7 separate regions of the Homo sapiens genome follow, and regions 1, 3, 4, 5, 6 and 7 are each linked to region 2. The links are contacts of gene promoters, found by promoter capture Hi-C in blood cells and fetal thymus (Javierre and others, 2016). All regions are on one chromosome and are shown on one strand. Each heading gives the region's core, a stretch centred on a gene start or on the middle of the fragment in contact. The rest is flanking DNA. Distances are from core to core; before and after follow the strand shown. Region 1 overlaps IRAK2 (interleukin 1 receptor associated kinase 2). Region 2 holds the start of TADA3 (transcriptional adaptor 3). Region 3 overlaps IRAK2 (interleukin 1 receptor associated kinase 2). Region 4 has its middle 9.0 kb from the start of IRAK2. Region 5 overlaps SETD5 (SET domain containing 5). Region 6 holds the start of TATDN2 (TatD DNase domain containing 2). Region 7 overlaps THUMPD3 (THUMP domain 3 tRNA guanosine methyltransferase).

Region 1 (2,842 bases), core at 164-2,663, 410 kb before region 2:
GCCTCACACAAGTCATGAGTTTCCTATCTGACTTAATGCCTGGGGTTTGCTCAGGAGGCTCCCCCAGGCCTCTCAGTTTGGGGGAATCCCTGAGGCCTGCTCCTGCGACACATGAGGGCTATTAGTTGGGTTTATTTATCCCTGTGGTCTTGGGGAAAAGAAATGGACTCTGGTCTGGAAAATCAGACAGGACCCACCAGCCATTACTCTCCATCTCTCCCTACCCAGCCCTCCCCTCCTCTGGGGTCTAATCGGATTGGCTCCTCGTGCCTAGGGTAGTTATCTGTGGTAGGAGAAACTCACAACCATAATCTTTAAAGGCCCCCACTGTATGTCCAAGGGCAGAGAGAGGAGAATGAGAAGGAATTCTCCAGCTATCAAGGATATGAAAATCTCCCTGGATTCCATACAAACTAATCAGAAGTTGGCCATGGGTGGATCATTACTGAAGCCAGCTGATGGGGACATGGAGGGTCATTATGCTCTTGGCTTTTGTATGTTTGTAATTTTTTCATATAAAAATGTTTTAAAATAATGGCTAAGGGAGGGGAGGGAGATGGGGCAGGAGAGTAGATGAACAAGATGGGATACTTGTTGGGTGATAGTGATAGATGGGGCTTGGGGCTTCTACATAATCTTGTTTCCAAGAGTGAGGCACAGCTAATCAGAGGTCAGATCAAGTGCCAGGACTTAGCTAAAAAACAAACCATTTCCTATGGAAATGCTTCCAGAAGCTTTCTTTTTCTTGCTTTTCTTTTTTGCTCTGTTTTGTTTGTTTTTGTTTTTGAAACAGAGTCTTTCTCTGTCACCCAAGCTGGAGTGCAGTGGCGTGATCTCGGCTCACTGCAACCTCCGCCTCCCAGGTTCAAGCAATTCTCCTGCCTCAGCCTCCCAAGTAGCTGGGATTACAGGCGCCTGAGACCATGCCTAGCTAATTTTTATATTTTTAGTAGAGATGAGGTTTCACCATGTTGACCAGGCTGGTCTCGAACTCCTGACCTGAGGTGATCCGACTGCCTTGGCCTTTTTGTTGCTATTCTACTGAGGCTAATATGCCTGCTTTCTCAAGCAAAATGCACCACCTCTGGTCCTGCCGAGCTGTGTCATTGCAGGTACAAGAATTGCAGAAGCAGCGGCACTGTATCTGACATGGGGTCTTCTATGTCCTGCCCTGATGCTGGCAGCGGGTCTACCCCCAGCTGCCCCATCTCCTTTATTAGTATCAAACAGAATTTGGCTCAAGCGCTGGCTCCAGCACTACTCAAGATCTGACCTCAGATGAGCTGTGCCTCACTTATCTGAGCTTTCTCAAATGTAAAAAGAGCAATAATGGTCTGTTTCTTGTCCAGGTAAAAAGAGCTGATGTTTATAGAGCACAAAGGTCAGGCTGTGACACATGCAGTACTTGGTATTTTACCAAGGCTGGTGAAACTATGTGTAGAGTAAGTAAACAGATTCTGACTGATAGCCCAGTGGCCTCTCCTACAGCTAAGGCTTTGTAACAGTTATTTCAGCTGCTCAAAACCCTTTCATCTGAATTCTAGCTTCGAGACTGCTTTGCCGAGGTGCTCATAGCCTATCCATGGCTCCTCTGCTCACATATTTTCCTCCTCAGCCAGGCGCGGTGGCTCATGCCTGTAATCCCAGCACTTTGAGAGGCCGAGGCAGGTGGTCAAGAGATCAAGACCATCCTGGTCAACATGGTGAAACCCCGTCTCTACTAAAAATACAAAAAATTAGCTGGGCGTGGTGGCGCGCACCTGTAGTGCCAGCTACTCGGGAGGCTGAGGCAGGAGGATCACTTGAACCCAGGAGGCAGAGGCTGCAGTGAGCCGAGATCGCGCCACTGCACTCCAGCCTAGTGATAGAGCGAGACTCTGTCTCAAAAAACAAAACAAACAAACATATTTTCCTCCTCCATGTCTCTTCCCACTTCCTTCCCACCTACTGCAAGGGGGAGCCAGGGTATCACAGGGATCAAGATGTGGGCTCAGTATACTTCACTCCTACCAAAATCCTTTAAGATAATTGATGAGTTTGAACTCTGGGGCTCAGTGGAACCTTGGGGTTTTCCCGAAAGAAGACAAGCTTTGGGTGGTTTGATGAAATGAATGATTTCTTATTTTCAATTTAGGCAAAGATAGACAATCAACTTCCTGTCTCTGCCTGCAAATTGTAGTTATCATCTTGACCTGCCTGGGCACATTTGCTCCAAGTGCCATCAAGAAAGCAAATAGGGGCTGGGTGCAGTGGCTCACGCCTGTAATCCCAGCACTTTGGGAGGCCAAGGCAGGTGGATTGCTTGAGCCCAGGAGTTCAAGACCAGCCTGTGCAACACAGCGAAACCCCATCTTTACAAAAAATACAAAAATCAGTCAGACGTGGTGGTGCGTGCCTATAGTCCCAGCTACTCAGGAGGCTGAGGCAGCAGGATCGCTTGAACCCGGGAGGCAAAGGTTGCAATGAGCCGAGATTGTGCCACTGCACTCTAGCCTGGGTGACAGAGATTCCATCCCACTGCCAAAAAAAGAAAGTAAGTAAATAGGGCTCTGTGCAGTGGCTCATGCCTGTAATCCCAACACTTTGGGAGGCCAAGGTGGGAGAATCGCTTGATCCCAGGAGTTCGAGACCAGCCTGGGCAACATAATGAGATCCCATCTTTACAAAAATAAAAAATTAGCCGGCCGTAGTGATGTACACCTGTAGTCCCAGCTACTTGAGAGGCTGAAGTGGGAGGATTGCTTCAGCCAGGGAAGTTGAGGCTGCAGTGAGCTATGACCGTGCCACCGTCACCTAGCCTGGGCAACAGAGCAAGGCCTATCTCAAAAAAAAAAAAAAAAAA
Region 2 (2,700 bases), core at 183-2,682:
CCAGATTAGGAGTCATCAGAATGAAGAAAGTTATCGAAGCCAGGAGACTAGATCGGTATCACCAGGGAAGGTGTGACGAAGAGGGAGATGGTCATCCAAAGTCACAACTCCCAGGAATGCCCACACGTATGAAAAAGGCCCACATGTATGAAAAAGGCCCACATGTATGAAAAAGGGAGGACTTCCAGGAAGGGAGGGATGAGCAGTATCACAGCTAACATACACTAAGGCTGACACAGTTCAGTTCTGACCAGGAAGGGCCTGAATGGAAGCAACACGAGAGATCCTCCAATGGGGTGGAAGCAGGGCTGGAGGTACCAAGAATGGGATAAGGAAGTGTGGCCGCCTGCCTTAAGCAACTGTAGGGTCAGGAAGGCAGAAGAGGACAAAGGGCGTATGTCGTGAAGTTCCACTGTGGATAGGCAGGTGGACTTGCTTCATGCCTCAGAGGCTAAGAGGCCGACTACGTACCCTCGAAATGCTCCAAAGAGCCTAGGAGACCCCACTTCCGGGTTCCTACAGGGCTCAGGAAAAGCCCCTACCTGCTTCGAAGGCTGACCGTGAAGCCACAAGGCCCACTTCATACCAGGGAGTACCCCCACTCGCCCCTTCCTCACCTCGGGCCCCCGCCCCGTCTCTTTTTCCCACCCTCATCGTGTCCCCACAACCCCCGGACATCCCTCGGCCCCGCGCCCCTGCGGCAAAGCCACATCTCCCACCGACCCACTGCCCTGAGGCCGAACAGCCGGGGGTCCCTGGCCGGGGGCCCGGCTCTCTCACCATCGCGGGCGCTGGCTGGGCCGGAAAGCGGAAGTACGGAAGTGGCCAGCCCCGCGATGCCTGCCCTTTCGCGAGAAGCGCAGCTACGGTCTCCGCCCGGACTTCCGGACGGTACCATCTATGCTCCGAGCGGGGTAGAGAGCCCTTACGAACGCTTGGGCCTTCCGGAAGTTTTCCACCTAGGGCTGTCTCGGTATTTTTAAATTCTTGCACTCGAGTCACTATTTAAGCTCCTCCAGGAATGGGTGCAGCTTCCCTTTGTGCCTTCGGCCTTCTTGTCACCTTTGCCACAGCCTCCCCCAGGTATGCAATGGTACAGCCCAGCTTCAGATTGGGCACCAAATTAGGACAAGCCGAAGCGGACGAGCCCTTCGTTTCTTCCGGTTCTGTACCCCCATCCTTTCTCTCGCCCCTCCTACCCGCAGCTCCTGGCGCTCGGCGGGGCTAACTGCAGCGCGGAGATCTCGGCCGCCAAGCTCCGCCTCCCGCCCCGGGCTGTGCCCCGGGGCTCGCCTGAGGCCGACCACCCGCACCCCACCTCTAGCGGCTTTGCTCGAGGCCCACCTTCTTCCCACCCCCGGCAAACTCCAGTAGGCTCGCCCTCGCTGACTCCCCGCCCCCGCGTCAACTGCAAGGGGCCCGCCCATAGCCAGTTCCGGGGCGGTTGCTCACATCGACCGGAACTCCCCGCCCCCTCCCGCGGCCCCTGGGGCCGTAGGAGGCCGCAGCGAGGAGGTAGAGGGGGCGGGGGTCGCACTAGGGTGTCCCTAGAGAACGAGGACTCTGAAGGCGGGACATTTGGGCGACCCCCGGGCGGGGCCAGCCATTAAACAGTCCCACTTCTGTGCCAGACACTGAACTGGGCTCTTGACGGGCATCATCTCTTAATCCTCAGAACATCCCAGGGAGGTAGGTACTATTGTTATCCCCATTTTTCAGATTCAGACTTTTAATGGGGAAACAGACCGAGACTTCTTTTGTCCCCATTTTACAGATGGAAAAACTGAGACTGAAAAAGGTCAAATAACATGTTCAGGGGCATATAAGTAGAGAATGGTAAAGCCTGGGCTTGAACCCAGGTCTGTCTGGCTTACCAGCCCACGTTCTAAACCACTGTTAGTGACTAGAGAAGGGAGAAAGGTGGAATAGGGTAAGAAAAGAGGCCAAGAGTCCCAGAGAACATGGTAAGAATGGGGTGCTTGGAACTCAAAGTCTTAGCAGAACCCAAGAGAAATAGAAGGGAAGGAAAGAGCATCAGAAAGGCGAGGCAAGGCATAGCAGTATAGCATGGTGATCAGGGTGCAGACTCAAGACTAGCGGGGTTCAAATTGCATCTTGGAAGCATAGGCACATACCCACCCTTACAGAGTCTCAGTTTCTTTCTCTGTAAAAACGAGATCACAATGGTCCTTGTTCATGGTGCTGAGTGAGAAATTCAGTGAGATAAACTGATAAAGTGCTCTGCACCTAGCTTGGTACCCAGTTAAGTGCCCTGTGAGTAGGAACTGTGCCATCAATTTTGTCAGTAAGGGACTGAAGCTGGGCTTCCTTGAGGCTGTCCCTGGAGGTAAGAAGCCCTTGGGCTTTTCTCAGACCACTTTGTCTCCCATCAATGGCCCTGTCCTCTCCAGCTCCACAGGATCCCCATATCCTGGGCCATGAGTGAGTTGAAAGACTGCCCCTTGCAGTTCCACGACTTCAAGTCTGTGGATCACCTGAAGGTCTGTCCCCGCTACACGGCAGTGCTGGCACGCTCTGAGGATGATGGCATCGGCATCGAGGAGCTGGACACCCTGCAGCTGGAGCTGGAGACCCTGCTGTCTTCTGCCAGCCGGCGCCTGCGTGTGCTTGAGGCCGAAACCCAGGTGATAACCCCAGAGAGGGGCCAGCACCAGAGATGGACTGCAACAAGTTATGGGA
Region 3 (2,721 bases), core at 119-2,618, 390 kb before region 2:
ACTGTGGTACTAACCTTTCTAATAATCTAATCTCTGCTCCACCTTTCTGAGTTCTACTACTGACCCTCAGAAGAGGTTCTCTGCCAAATACAGAGAGCTCAAAGGCAAAAGTCAAATTAAGAGTCCTGCCTTCCCATCCAACTTACTGTTTCAGGTGGCTTCAAGGGAAGCTCCAGGTAAGCACATTAAATTGGGGGGTGAGGAGGCGAGGCTAAGCGCAGAAGCCAGGAAATAACAGACCAAACACTTCAGGGCTGAGAATTAAGATGTGTCTAGGCTGGATCTTCGGCTGTGATTACCACAGCAGAACTGATTAGAAGCCAAGAGAGCAGAAGCTTCTAGTTTTTTGACAGAACTGTGTTGCCAAAGAAACCACAGCTGAATCTGATAAAAGCTGGAGATTATTTGACTCCTACAGCTCCACTCAAGTCCCCAAACCCACACCAGCAGGAGGTGGTTTGTGAAAGCCAAGGAGCCCTAAATAAAAGCACATTCTTTCCAGTTCCGTTTCAGATAAGGCCACAGAGAATAATGAACGTGGAAGCTCCACTTCCCAGAAATCACGGAGGACCAGGTATCAGAGCAGTGTTTTGTTGTTGTTGTTGTTGTTGTTGAGACGGAGTCTTGCTCTGTCACCCAGGCTGAAGTGCAGTGGCACAATCTTGGCTCATTGCAATCTCTGCCTCCCAACAATCTCTGCCTCCTGGTTCAAGAGATTCTCTTGCCTCAGCCTCCCGAGTAGCTGGGATTACACGTGCCCACCGCCACCTCTGGCTAATTTTTGTATTTCCATTTTTATTTATTTTTGAGACGGAGTGTAGTCTGTCGCCCAGGATGGAGTGCAGTGGCACAATCTCAGCTCACTGCAAACCTCCACCTCCCAGGTTCAAGCAATTCTCCTGCGTCAGCCTCCCAAGTAGCTGAGATCACAGGCCTGAGCCACCACGCCTGGCCTAATTTTTGTATTTTTAGTAGAGACGATGTTTCACCATGTTGGCCAGGCTGGTCTTGAACTCCTGACCTCAAGTGATCCACCCACCTCAGCCTCACAAAGTGTTGGGATTACAGGTGTGAGCCACCGCGCCCAGCCAGAGCAGTGGTTCTTTTTTTTTTTTTTTTTTTTTGAGACGGAGTTTCACTCTTGTTGCCCAGGCTGGAGTACAATGGTGCGATCTTGGCTCACCACAATCTCTGCTTCCCAGGTTCAAGCGATTCGCCTGCCTCAGCCTTCCTGAGTAGCTGGGATTACAGGCATGCACCACCACGCCCGGCTAATTTTGTGTTTTTAGTAGAGACAGGGTTTCTCCATGTTGGTCAGGCTGGTCCCGAACTCCCGACCTCAGGTGATCCGCCTGCCTGGGCCTCCCAAAGTGCTGGGATTACATGCATGAGCCACCGCGCCGGGCCGAGCAGTGGTTCTTAAACTTCAAGGTGCATCAGAATCATCTGGGGAACTTAAGCCAGACTGCTGGGCCTCACCACTAGAGTTTCCGAATCAGCAGATGAGGTGGGGCCCAATAATTTGCGTTTCTAACAAGTTCCCAGGTGATACTGATGCTTAGGATGCTTCGCGAATCACAGATCACTGAGAACCAAGGGCTGCCAGATGGGCCAAGCAAAGAACTTACTCCTTTACCTGGGAATGGAGTTTTGGCCCGGCGCAGGGGCTCACGCCTGTAATCCCAGCACTTTGGGAGGCCAAGGCGGGCGGATCACGAGGTCAGGAGATCACCCTGGCTAACACGGTGAAACCCCGTCTCTACTAAAAATAAAAAAAAATAAAAAAATAGCCGGGCATGGTGGCGGGCGCCTGTAGTCCCAGCTACTCGGGAGGCTGAGGCAAGAGAATGGCGTGAACCTGGGAGGCGGAGCTTGCAGTGAGCCGAGATCGCGCCACTGCACTCCAGCCTGGGCGACAGAGCAAGGCTCCGTCTCAAAAAAAAAAAAAAAAAAAAAAAACACACAAAAACTCCACAAAAAAACAGGGAAGGGAGTTTTACAATTGCTCCTCTGCCAGATTTGTTGACTGCTATAGACAAGTAACTACCTCGTGTTTCTCATCTCAAGTAGGAGTTTTTTATTGTGGCTTCCTGTTCAAATTCCACCATGGAATTTGGGTGTGCTGGGGGAAGGGGATGCAGACAGCTTCTCTTTGGTTGAGAGGCCCTGGGTCACTGGGGCCATTAGAGAAGGCTACACATCACCCACACATACCAGATTTGCCCTAAAGGAAGTGACTGATTAGGCCCCCAGGCCTATCTCCCTTGTGGAAAGCAGATGTTTTATGCAGGTCAAGACAGGTGTATACAGATATCTGGGTGGCCAAAATGGACCGTGGCAGAAACTGCTAATGGTCCCTCCAATACTGATTGCCTCCTTTTCTAGAGTACTAGAAGCTTTAGTTGCACATAAAACCTTGCAACCAAAGATTACATTTCCCAGCCTCCCTTGCAAGCAGGTGTGGTTCTGTGACCAGGTTTGGCCAATAGCTTATGAGGGAAAGTAGGTGAGCAACTTCCTGGTCATGTCCTTAAAAGAAGTGGAGTGTACCCACCTTTTTCCTCTTTTTCCCTTCTTGCTGTCTGCGATGTGCATGTAGGGGCACAGAGGGGCCATCTCAGATGTGAGAAGTCTTGTGTCCACACTGGCAGAACAGTAAAGAAGAAAGAGCCTGGGCCACAAAACCACGGAGCTGCCACTTGAGCCCGGGGCAGCCTGGCA
Region 4 (2,744 bases), core at 244-2,743, 360 kb before region 2:
GGAGTCTGTTCCAGAGGGATCTGCTTTCTGCATCTATCAGGGGGGTGGAAATCCTGGAGGCTGCCAAGTATAAACGAGTATTTGGAAAACAGCTGCCCCAGAGGCACACTAGACCTTCTCAAAATCCTCCCTACTGCTTGGAGTTGCTCCACGCCAGGGTAATCCAGACCTGCTGGAACAGCCCTGATACGGTTTGGCTGTGTCCCCCCCAGATCTCATCTTGAATTGTAATCCCCATATATCATGGGAGGGTTTAATCAAATCATGGGAGGTAATTTTCCCCAGGCTGTTCTCATGATGGTGACAGAGTTTTCTTTTTTTTTTTTTTTTTTGAGACGGAGTCTTACTCTATCGCCCAGGCTGGAGTGCAGTGGCACAACCTTGGCTCACTGCAAGCTCCGCCTCCCAGGTTCAAATAATTCTCTGCCTCAGTCTCCCGAGTAGCTGGGATTACAGGCACCCGCCACCACGCCTGGCTAATTTTTGTATTTTTAGTAGAGACAGGGTTTCACCACCTTGGCCAGGCTGGTCGTGAACTCCTGACCTTGTGATCCACCCACCTCGGCCTCCCAAAGTGCTGGGACTACAGGCGTGAGCCACCACGTCTGGCCAATGGTGACAGAGTTTTCATGAGATCTAATGGTTTTATAAGCATCTGCCATTTCCCCTGCTGGCATTCATTCTCTCTCCTGCTGCCCTGTGAAGAGGTGCCTTCCACCATGATTGTTAAGTTTCCTGAGGCCTCCCCAGCTGTGAGCAACTGTGTCAATTAAACCTCTTTTCTTTATTAATTACACAGTCTTGGGTATTCCTTCATAACAGCATGAGAACAGACTAATACGAGCCCTTACCACAGTTCCTATCAGAGGTTTCTGAGCATGGAATAGCTACAACAAGAGTTCTCAAAATTCTTGGGTTGGGCCTAGGTAATGAACACCCTCCTACAAGGGAAGATCCATCAACTCATGTCACTCCCCATCAAGCAAATTGCTAAACTGTCCTTTGCCCAATTAAGTCTCCTCCAACTTATGTTAAGATGAAATGGTTCAACAGGACTTCCCCCAAGCCTTTCAGTAACCTCAGCTCTGTTATCAGCATCTGTGGGGCCAGCTCCAGGCCCCCAGGATTCAACTTTTCCCAATTGGAACGAAACAATCTTTCGTGTTTTTCCTTCTGACAGACAGGGAGAGAGATTACTGCCATTAGTTTGTATGTCAAACAGACTTATATTTTCCTGCGGTTTCATGTTTTGAATTTTGAAATAAGTTTTGTGGGTTTTTCTCCCTCTCATACATTGAGTGCTACTGCCCAATCCTTCTCATGACCATAATACGTGTACCTCAATTTTCTGTGACCTGCCAATGGACTACTGGGTATGTGTGGTAAGGGGTGGGGACAAGAAAATGTTTTGTTGGGGCAGGCAGTTTAGGTGTGCCGAAAGAAAGGGGAACAAGTTGAATGTCCCTCATTGGAAATGCTTGGGACCAGAGGTGTTTCCAATTTCAGATTTTTTTGTATTTTGGAATATGTGCATATATATGAGGTATCTTGAGGATGGGACCCAAGTCTAAAGGCGAAATTCATTTACCTTTCTGTTTCAGAAAAACTGTTTTTCCTCTAGATTCCACACTAACACAATACCAACCCAGAACACTTTCGTGTCCAAATGTGTAGATTTCTTCCCGAGAGCGAGCAAGCAATCAATTCTGCAGTGAACACCAATTAGGTATCCTCTAATTCACTTCCAACACCATCTTTCTGGAAATAATATCAGATCCTGCAGGTTGAGGCCTCAGTCCCCAAGACTGCCCCCACCCACACACCAGTAGCAAGTTTAGGGCTCCAGAACTTCTGACCAACCAGCTTCAAGTTGGGGTTCCCACCACCTTCGCTTTGGGTTTAATTTGCTGGAGTGGCTAACAGAACTCAGTGAAAAATGTTTACCAGTCTTTTTTTTTTGAGACAGCAGGTCTTGCTCTGTCTCCCAGGCTGGAGTGCAAACTGAACAGCTGGGACTGCAAGCATGCGCCACCACTCCTGGTTGTTCTTTTTTTTTCTAGGAGAGACAGGATCTCACTATGATGTTATCTTGAACTCCCAGGCTGAAGCAATCCTCCTACCTCAGCCTCCCAAAGTGCTGGGATTATATGTGTGAGCCACCACGCCCGGCCTACCTGGTTTATCATAAAGGATATTACGAAGGATACAGATGAAGAGATGCGTACACCAAGGTATGGGATAAGGGGCGCAGAGCTTCTGTCCCCTCCCTGGGCGCACCACCCTCCAGGAACCTCTACACGTAGTTCAGCTATCCTGACACTCTCCACTGTCCTCATGGGTTTTAACGAGGCTTTATGATGTCACCATTCCTTCCCCCAGGGTATGGGGTAGGACCTTCTCTGAAATGAGGGTTGTAATCTCACCTGTAATCCCAGGGCTTTGGGAGGCCAAGGTGGGAGGATCGCTTGAGCCCAGGAGTTAAAACCAGCCTGGGCAACACAGCGAGACCCCATCTCTACAAAAAACTTAAAAATTAGCCAGGCAAGGTGGCTCACATCCGTAACAAGGGCTATGGGAGTTATGAGCCAGGAACAAAAAAAGAAAACATATACATCATAACACCAGTTTCATAAACACCTTACAGACAAAGGCTGAAGGTAATTGTAAGCAATATTTTCCACAGTTTTGCACGTGAAACAAGTTTGTGTTAAGTACTCACATGTGGAACTTTCCACTTGTGGCGT
Region 5 (2,726 bases), core at 118-2,617, 350 kb after region 2:
GATTACAGGCATGAGCCACTGCGCCCAGCCGCTTTCACATCTTATAGCTGTTTCCAGCTCCACCAGAGAATTAAAATTCCTTAGCCAGTAAGTAAAGCTCTGTGGATTTTCTTGCTTTATTTGATGTGGTTGCTCTGAGTAATGAATTCTAGAAATGTCTAGATCCTCTCATAAAACATTACTCACTAAAATCTAAAAAAACTGCAACCAAATAGCTTAGTTAGGCCTAACAACATCTACTTCCACCGTATGGCAATCTCTTTAATATAACTACACTTGATTTTCTTATCCAGTCTAGCTTTTTCTCCTTAGCAAATGCTAACTTGCTCTTTTCTATTTCTGCCTTCTCTAAAGAAAACTCTTTCCTTGCGCCCATTTTGTCGTATAAAAGCACCATTACTTTTGTTTTTCACCTCCCACGATGAAATATCACGACTATTATCTACAGACCTTTATCTGAGTGAAGTTTTCACACTGCTTCTTCAGTAAGCTTGTCATTTGATGGTTCCAGTCAAAGGGAAGTTGCTACAGATATCTTACCTCTGCATTTGGTGTACATGATCTTCTGATGAACCGAGCATCATTACCGAAAGTACGGGCATCCACACACATCTCTACACCATTGAATTTTGAGTAGAAGAGCACAAAGGGGTATGGTCTAGGGATACAATTAAAATTCCTGTAATTCTCAACACAAATAAGAAGGCCACCCCATGACTCCAAATATGAAGCATATGCTGAGAGAAGCAGCAGCAGTCTTTTGCAACGCCTAAACTTGGGAAAGCATCACGTTTGTCTGCTTTTGATTAAAGAACAAGCACAAAGCAAGGAATGCTTGGCTTGGAAAGGAGGTGTCACCATTTTATACATTGAACAATTTGAAGATTTACTTGCACTTCTCTACAAATAGCAGACAGGTGTGAGCTTATCTGAGTTGTGATTTTTTTCTCCCAAGAGCGTCTTATCAAACAGAATGATTTTTACAACAACACTGGTCAACCAGGTCCACCTTAGCCCTCACTGCTCAATGAATGACGTTCTTACTTTTTGAAGAAATGCCCATTGACCTCAAATTGCTGTCGTAACATGACTTTCCCACGATACTCTATTATAAGAGTGTCCAAAGCCAAATCTCTTGCAGCCCTCAGGATCTTCCGGTGCTTTTGAACACGAGTGACTCTTCCCAGCTGTAACTGAATAAAACCAGAGCAATAACATTAAACAACAGCAAGAACACCTTAGTAGACACTCAAATTACTTCATAATTAAGGAAAACATGCTAATATTTTCAGGTTTTATCTGTACATGTTATTTAGATCAATGATGAGAAATTTTAAAATGTGATGAAAGCTCAATTTTTCTAAGAGACATGCTACATCTAGTGAAATTGCCTCCCCAGAAACGGCAAGAAAATATTAAAAAAAAAAAAAAAATACATGATTAAGACTTCAGTGACTCTATCTCTAAAATAAAGATGAGAAAGAACATGCTTAACTTTCTATAAATATTACATAATTCCTACCTAGGGTATATAGAATTTCCCATACTAAGTCATCTCTCTCTCTGTTTTTTAAATAGAGCCAGGGTCTCACTCTTTCATTCAGGCTGGAGTGCAGTGGTGCAATCATAGCTTACTATAACCTCAAATTCATTCAAGTGATCCTTCCACCTCAGCCTCCCCAGTAGCTGGGACTTACAGGTGTGTATCATCACAACGGCTTTTAATTTTTTTTTTTTGTAAAGAGAGGGTCTCACTATGTTGTACAGGCTGGTCTTGAACTGCTGGCCTCAAGCAATCCTTCCACCTTGGCTTCTTGCCAAAGTGTTGTATTATAGGAGTGAGCCACTGCACTGCACACAGCCTCAATTCATCTATTTTTTTATTAATAAAGGTAGTTTAAAAATATGTATCCAGGTAGTTTCCAGTTAATATAACCTACTTTTGGTTACATATGATCAACACCTGGCTAATCTGTTATTCCATGGCCTTGTACATTTGGAAGGAACAGTAATTCCAATCCATTACCCTCTTCCTGGGTTCTTAAAATTTCAGCTACTTAGAGAGTCCTCAACCCTTTGGTGCTTACCTGCATTTGGGAACCAATAACTGTGTTATTACAGGCCAATTCAGTCTTATTAATAGTGTCTAAAATAGTAGGTTTGCCCACAAATTCCTTGCTAGAATGTAGGTGTTGTTCAAGCGCGTTCTGTACATCTGCACTGTACTGATTAGTGAAAGCTTCTTCATACTGGTCAGTCCATAGTCTTATCCGATTTTCCCAGCCCTCAGTTGTATTCTCATCTAAATTCTGTGCTTCAGAGGGAGAATTCTGTAGAAAACAAATTCAGGGAGGTTAGTAAAGTCCATGCATAAATAGAGGGTTGGGAATGGGGGTGGGACAAGCTGGGGTTCCAGAGAAAATTTATCACTTGGCAATTGATGTGGCATAAAAGAGTAATGGACTGGGAGTCAGAGGATCTGGTTTCTATCATGCTTTTGTTACCAATGAGAGGTGAGACCTTGAATAACTTCTTTAAATGGGGAAGCTCAGTTTCTCCATTTATAAAGTAAGAAATTAATCTGGATCATAGTTTCATCCCATCACTGTGATTTTATGACCATTTTAAAGTCATAAAAATCAATTTTCTAATCAAAGGACTGACATCAAGTTCATAAGAAAATCTTCATACAAATGAACAGTAGAGACCTCAAATTTATCACTGCT
Region 6 (2,700 bases), core at 102-2,601, 460 kb before region 2:
ACACCTAGAACATTGCCTGGCACAAACTAAACCCTCAACACATATTTGTTCAAAGCCTTGATTGAGTAGATGAGCGAAATGTATCTTCTCTGTGAAGCACTCCTTGGTCTGCTCAAAGTACTTATGAAACCCTCTTGCATGTTTCCATTAGGGAATTAACAATTTAACCTCCAAAAAAAAAAGAAAAAAAAAAAAAACTAGCACCACCAAGCAAAACCCCAACATGCTGGAAACTATGACTTTGGAGAAAAGCTACACCAAGAACCGCAATTCTTGGTTCTGTGATTCAGAGTGGTTCAAAGTACAAGGGCACACAATTCTTTAAACTGACAACTAAAATAAATACATTCTTCTCTTGAGCACATAATCCACCTTCTACTGCAGTGATTCTCCAACGGGGCTGCACGTTTACAATAACCTGGGGAGCACTGAAAAATCTGGAAGCCCAGACCACACCTCAGCCCAATAAATCAGTTTCTCTGGAGTAGGAGGCAGGCCCAAGTATTTTAAAGCTTTCCAAGTAGTTCCAAAGTGCTGCCGAGTTTGAAAATTACCTCTCTACTTAACTTCAGGCCACGCGCCTGGAAGACTGCTAGGTCTTCGAGTTTGGGGGGAGTGGACTTCTAGAAAGACCTTCCAGACCTTCAAGGATGTAATGTTTTGTAGTCTCCTTCCACCAAAATTCCCATCCCCAACCTCTCAAGCCATGTGGAAGGGGCTTCACCGATTGCAAAGCGTGGCAGCCACCTACCTTAAGGCTGCAGGCTTCCTCCTCTAGAGAAGCCATTTCTTCCAAAGAGGCGTTGGCAGGACGCAGAGGGGATCCCCCTGAAGACAGGAACCCCCGAGTGTTCCGAATCAGGCAGCCTTTGGAGGCGGCCCCGCCCACACCAGGGCCCAAGAAATGTGGGGAGAAGGAGGAGGAGGAGTTATTTCTGCGGCGGGATGAGCCCCAGGATAACCTCCGCGAGCAAGCCACATCGTCCTCCTTCTGGGCTTTCAGGCGCTTGGGGCTGCTGGGCCCTCCAGAACGCGACGCAGACCTCTGAGCTGGCCGGCTGGAGGGGGCCACATCACAGGGCTCCCGGAGGCAGCTGCGCTTGCGGGGACACCCTTCCGACGTGCTGCTCCAGTTGTGCTTGACCTTGCCCCGCTCGGACGCCATGGGCACCTGCAAGGTACAGGGGGCCTGGATTCCAACACCACCCTTCCTGGCGACCCCACCTCAGATTCCCGCCACCCCGGGCCCAGGAGGACGGCAAGACATAAGGGCAGAGCCAGGGGCTAGCCTCACTGACCTTTCCCTCTTCTTTCCACTGCCCATCACAGTTCTCAAGGTTTCAGAGATGCCAAACCGTGTTGGAGAAGTCAAAGCGATCCAAAATTGACTAAAGGCTGCCGTCGGTTTCCAAGCCCACAACGTGCTTCTGAGATCAGGAAGCCTTCACTTTGCCCAGCGCTACTTCGGAGATGCCTAAGCGCTTCCGGGGCTACGAAGCGCTTTGATCAGTTTGCAATATAAAGCCCTTTAGAACTGTCAAGCGCTTCAGAAGACCACATGGCGCTTCAAGATCCACACATGGCTGCCGGATCCGCGGCCCCGGGGCCGGGCGCTTAGCCCGTAGGCCAGGGCCAGACCCGGGCGCCGCAGCCCGCCCTGCTCCTGCGGCCCAACCAGACCCGGGCCGGAAGGGGCCCGAGCGGCCCCTCGGGAGCTGGCAGCGCCCTCGACCGCCAACTCAGGACGCCCCCCGCCGGCTGCCGCAGCTGTCCCGCCGGGCAGCCCGCCGCCTGCCCCAGCCCTACAGCCCCGCCTGGCCCGGCCTCCGCCCGAACTGCGACCACTCCGGCCTCCGTGGCGCCCGCCCTCCGGAACGAGCCCTGCGGCCCGCAGGCCGGAGAGCGACAGGGGCGGGGCCTGCGCCAAACGGAAGGCGCCCATTGCTCGACCCGGCAAGGGGCGGGACTCCGAGCAAGACGCAGCCCGCCTCAAAGCCAGGCGCCTTGGAGTCGGGACGGTACGCCTTAGGAAGCTCGTCCATTGGTCAGAAGCCAGATGGGGCGGAGCCACTCACGTGGGCTCGAACAGCGGGAAGTTGAGGCCAGCCAGATGTGCAGGCAGGTGGTGTCCGCTGACGCGCCTCACTTAACGCTGTTTTCCTCAGCGCCGGCCGCTGTACCTGAAGCTTTCAGACCTGGATTTCTCATCGAGCCAAAGCAAACCGTGTACTGAGCATTATCACCCCACTTTATAGAGCAGAAAACTGTGGCTCAGAGAGACTAAGTACACACCCAGAAATGGGAAGAATTAGAATTAGAAGGCACCAAAAAAAAAAAAAAAAAGACTACACAAAAATGTGAACTATCCGCCTGGTGAAAAATATTAAAGACGGCTGGGCACGGTGTCTCACGCCTGCAATCTCAGCACTTTGGAAGACCGAGGCGGGAGGATGGCTTGAGCTCGGGAGTTAGAGACCAGCCTGGCCAGCATGGTGCGACCCCCATCTCTACAAAAAATAAAATTAGCTGGGCGTGATGCCAGCTACTCAGGCTGAGGTGGGAGGATCACTTGAGGCCGGGAGGTCGAGGCTGCAGTGAGCTGTGATCCCGCCACTGCACTCCAGCCTGGAGGACAGAGCAAGACCCTGTCTCAAAAAAGAAAAAAAATCAAAGACAAGGTACAAATTCAGAAAAATACTC
Region 7 (2,700 bases), core at 50-2,549, 410 kb after region 2:
ACTCCAGCCTGGGTGACAGAGCAAGACCCCCGTCTCAGAAAAAAGGGAAACAAACTGAAAACATGATTGTAATGCAGAGAACTGCAAAAGACAACTTTAAAAACAATGCTGAAGCAGTAAATTACATAACCGATGATACAAAAATTTAAGTTGCTGATAAAACATACACTGGAGAAAAACAATACTAAAGAATAGATAATGGGGTGATGTATCTGAAGAATAAAGTTTGTAAAACTAGTAATAACAGGAGGCCTAAAAGAAAAACAGATAGTAAAATTGGCAAATATATAGGTAATTGTTTCAAGATGAAAAACCAAAAGGAAAATATGTGCCATGCTATATAAAACAAGACTAAGAAAAAAGTTAAGATAAAAAATATAGATGACAGAAGACAGAATGAATAATAATAAATACAAAGGATTTAAATCCTCCTCATTAAGGCAAAGCAACTGGTTTAAGAAACAAAATAATGCACAGGCTAAGAACTGAAGATAAGTCAAAGGTTATCAGCAGAAATTAAGGATTTAATTGACATTTAATGAAGAATTTAAGAAAAAAATGCAATAAAAGCAATCATTACATAATTTTTAAAAGTACACATAAAATATGTATTATAACCGCATACCAATAACTGCACAAAACAAAAGGCAAAAAATATTAAAAACCAAAGTAAAATGGATAGAAATGTACAGGTTGAGGCCGGGCACAGTGGCTCATGCCTGTAATCCCAGCACTTTGGGAGGCCAAGGTGGGCAGATCATGAGGTCAGGAGATTGAGACCATCCTGGCTAACATGGTGAAAACCCGTCTCTACTAAAAATACAAAAAAAAAATAAGCCGGGCATGGTGGCGGGTGCCTGTAGTCCCAGCTACTTGGGAGGCTGAGGCAGGAGAATGGCGTGAACCCGGGAGGCGGAGCTTGCAGTGAGCCGAGATCAAGCCACTGCACTCCAGCCTGGGCGACAGAGTGAGACTCCGTCTCAAAAAAAAAAAAAAAAAAAAAAAAAAAAAAAAAAAAAAAAAGTACGGGTTGAACAGACAGTGTAGGTACAAACAAGATAAAATATTCAGAAGCTAGAAAGGTACGTTTGTTTAAATGTTTATCAGTTTTAATTAAAAAAAAAAAAGACTGGCCATATACTAGGCTCATTAAAAAAAACCCTCAATAAATATGAAACAACCATTCAAAATTAATTCATCACAATAAATCAGTATTTAAGAAAATTGAAGCCTTCCAACTACTTGTCTTAATACACGTAAAAGGATTTAATGTTGATACATAGACCAGCAGCATCAGCATTGTCCTGGAGTTTCCTGGAAAATGCAGACTCTTAGGTCCCATCCCAAACTACTAAATCAGATCTGTGTTAACAGTACTCCTAGGTGATTCACATGTACATTAATGTTTGAGAAGCACTGTCCTAAAAAATTAGATCAGAGAGACAATGAAATATATAACCAATGACTTAGTAATAAAATAGAGGCGAGGCTATATAAACTGCAGTATTTCTATACGATGGAATTTATGTAGTGACTTTAAAGACTATGGTCCAGGTGTGGTGACTCGTCTCTAATCCCAGCAATTTGGAAGGCTGAAGCGGCAGAATCTCTTGAGGCCAGGAGTTTGACACCAGCCTGGACAAAACAGCAAGACCCCCATCTCTACGAAGATTTTAAAAAATTAGCTGGGCATGGTGGCACATGCCTGTATTCCTAGCTACTAGGGAGGCCAAGGCAGGAGGATTGCTTGAGCTCAGTAGGTTGAGGCTACAGTGAGCCATGATCATGTCACTGCACTCCAGCCTGGGTGACAAAATGAGACCCTGTACCCAAAGCAAAAAAGAAGCCTATGTAAAAATATACTGTTTAAAATTTTGTGAAATTAAAATGAGTCTATAAAATATTCTTCCAATATGTAGGGGAAAAGACATATGAATAAGACAAATGAAAAATTGCATATGGTGGGGAAATTATCGCTAAAATAATATTTTAAAAATATAACTTATTTTCAATAAACTTTAAAAATGTAAATGGAGTCTCATAGTATATTCATTTTGGTTACAATGACGTCACAATGCACTGGGAGTTTTAATTCATAAAGTCAATATAAAAAGTGATTCTCTAACTCTAAAAGATGCTAAGAAATCTTTTAAATTTTTACCCTTCTTTAATTTGGCTCTTGGTCAATAAAGATGCAATGTTATTTGCTGCTCTATTCACAGCCAGTGGATTATTATCACCAGCAATATGGAAACAGTCAGACCATTCAGTGGCCCCCTAAAAGATAAGAGTGTATGTTAAAACAAAAGTAGCAAACTGTAAAATATGATTAAATTGTCAACAAACAAAGAAAATCCAGTGCTTTTCTAGAGTGGCAAAACATTGCATGTTGTCAACTGTGCTATTTCCCTGGCTGAAAATGCCCTCTTATTCTTTCTCTGCTTGCTGAACCTCTACCCATCTCTTAAGACCCAGCTCAAACCTCATGCCCTTTCAACATCAACCTTAACTCTCCAAGCAGTCTTATGTGCCCCTCCCAAAAACACTTTGTATGTACGTACCTCTGCCACTGCACTTGTCCCACGGTTAATTATTTCTTCCCCTTTATGCCTCTCAACTAACCTGGGAGCTCTCTGAGGTCAGGTCTAGTATTTTATTCAGTTCCTCATCCAGCAGTGTCTGGCACACTAAATTCTAAGT

The links. Contacts are between HindIII fragments. The CHiCAGO score rates a contact against its expected background, and 5 or more counts as called.
Region 1: a fragment that was not itself captured here is called in contact with the fragment with the promoter of TADA3 in region 2 in 8 of 17 cell types (activated CD4 T cells, naive CD8 T cells, total CD4 T cells and 5 more); the score reaches 8.4 in activated CD4 T cells.
Region 3: a fragment that was not itself captured here is called in contact with the fragment with the promoter of TADA3 in region 2 in 4 of 17 cell types (monocytes, naive B cells, activated CD4 T cells and 1 more); the score reaches 7.4 in monocytes.
Region 4: a fragment that was not itself captured here is called in contact with the fragment with the promoter of TADA3 in region 2 in 1 of 17 cell types (monocytes); the score reaches 7.0 in monocytes.
Region 5: a contact is called between a fragment that was not itself captured here and the fragment with the promoter of TADA3 in region 2, in 1 of 17 cell types (neutrophils). The highest score is 5.1, in neutrophils.
Region 6: a fragment that was not itself captured here is called in contact with the fragment with the promoter of TADA3 in region 2 in 13 of 17 cell types (monocytes, total CD8 T cells, naive CD8 T cells and 10 more); the score reaches 13.0 in monocytes.
Region 7: a fragment that was not itself captured here is called in contact with the fragment with the promoter of TADA3 in region 2 in 2 of 17 cell types (neutrophils and total B cells); the score reaches 8.3 in neutrophils.

Annotation. Positions count from the first base shown.
Region 1 is chr3:10,202,693-10,205,534 of GRCh38, reverse strand. All of the region lies in intron 3 of IRAK2 (interleukin 1 receptor associated kinase 2), which reads right to left. Among named protein-coding and RNA genes, the nearest start is that of IRAK2, 39 kb to the right of the region's middle. The HindIII fragment of the contact is 1,354 bases long and covers 737-2,090 here.
Region 2 is chr3:9,791,205-9,793,904 of GRCh38, reverse strand. It overlaps TADA3 (transcriptional adaptor 3), which reads left to right and starts at 1,432. Exons shown (of 9, transcript NM_006354.5): 1 at 1,432-1,689; 2 at 2,412-2,645. The coding sequence starts at 2,439. ARPC4-TTLL3 (ARPC4-TTLL3 readthrough) reads right to left here and starts at 1,357. Exons shown (of 12, transcript NM_001198793.1): 1 at 781-1,357. The coding sequence starts at 783. It overlaps ARPC4 (actin related protein 2/3 complex subunit 4), which reads right to left and starts at 823. Exons shown (of 6, transcript NM_005718.5): 1 at 781-823. The coding sequence starts at 783. RefSeq lists enhancers at 158-247, 447-973, 948-1,047, 974-1,500, 2,605-2,700 and silencers at 1,178-1,467, 1,528-1,617. The HindIII fragment of the contact is 10,858 bases long and covers 1-2,700 here.
Region 3 is chr3:10,183,962-10,186,682 of GRCh38, reverse strand. All of the region lies in intron 2 of IRAK2 (interleukin 1 receptor associated kinase 2), which reads right to left. Among named protein-coding and RNA genes, the nearest start is that of IRAK2, 20 kb to the right of the region's middle. RefSeq lists enhancers at 336-836, 837-1,337. The HindIII fragment of the contact is 2,061 bases long and covers 338-2,398 here.
Region 4 is chr3:10,154,576-10,157,319 of GRCh38, reverse strand. No RefSeq gene overlaps it. Among named protein-coding and RNA genes, the nearest start is that of IRAK2, 9.0 kb to the left of the region's middle. The HindIII fragment of the contact is 8,341 bases long and covers 1-2,744 here.
Region 5 is chr3:9,440,060-9,442,785 of GRCh38, reverse strand. SETD5 (SET domain containing 5) reads right to left here. Exons shown (of 23, transcript NM_001080517.3): 8 at 2,088-2,330; 9 at 1,045-1,193; 10 at 541-658. Among named protein-coding and RNA genes, the nearest start is that of SETD5, 44 kb to the right of the region's middle. The HindIII fragment of the contact is 1,749 bases long and covers 493-2,241 here.
Region 6 is chr3:10,247,666-10,250,365 of GRCh38, reverse strand. It overlaps TATDN2 (TatD DNase domain containing 2), which reads right to left and starts at 1,907. Exons shown (of 8, transcript NM_014760.4): 1 at 1,299-1,907; 2 at 752-1,171. The coding sequence starts at 1,165. RefSeq lists an enhancer at 471-1,339 and a silencer at 1,592-2,021. The HindIII fragment of the contact is 1,674 bases long and covers 515-2,188 here.
Region 7 is chr3:9,380,080-9,382,779 of GRCh38, reverse strand. It overlaps THUMPD3 (THUMP domain 3 tRNA guanosine methyltransferase), which reads right to left. Exons shown (of 10, transcript NM_001114092.2): 7 at 2,162-2,277. Among named protein-coding and RNA genes, the nearest start is that of THUMPD3-AS1, 15 kb to the left of the region's middle. The HindIII fragment of the contact is 6,287 bases long and covers 1-2,700 here.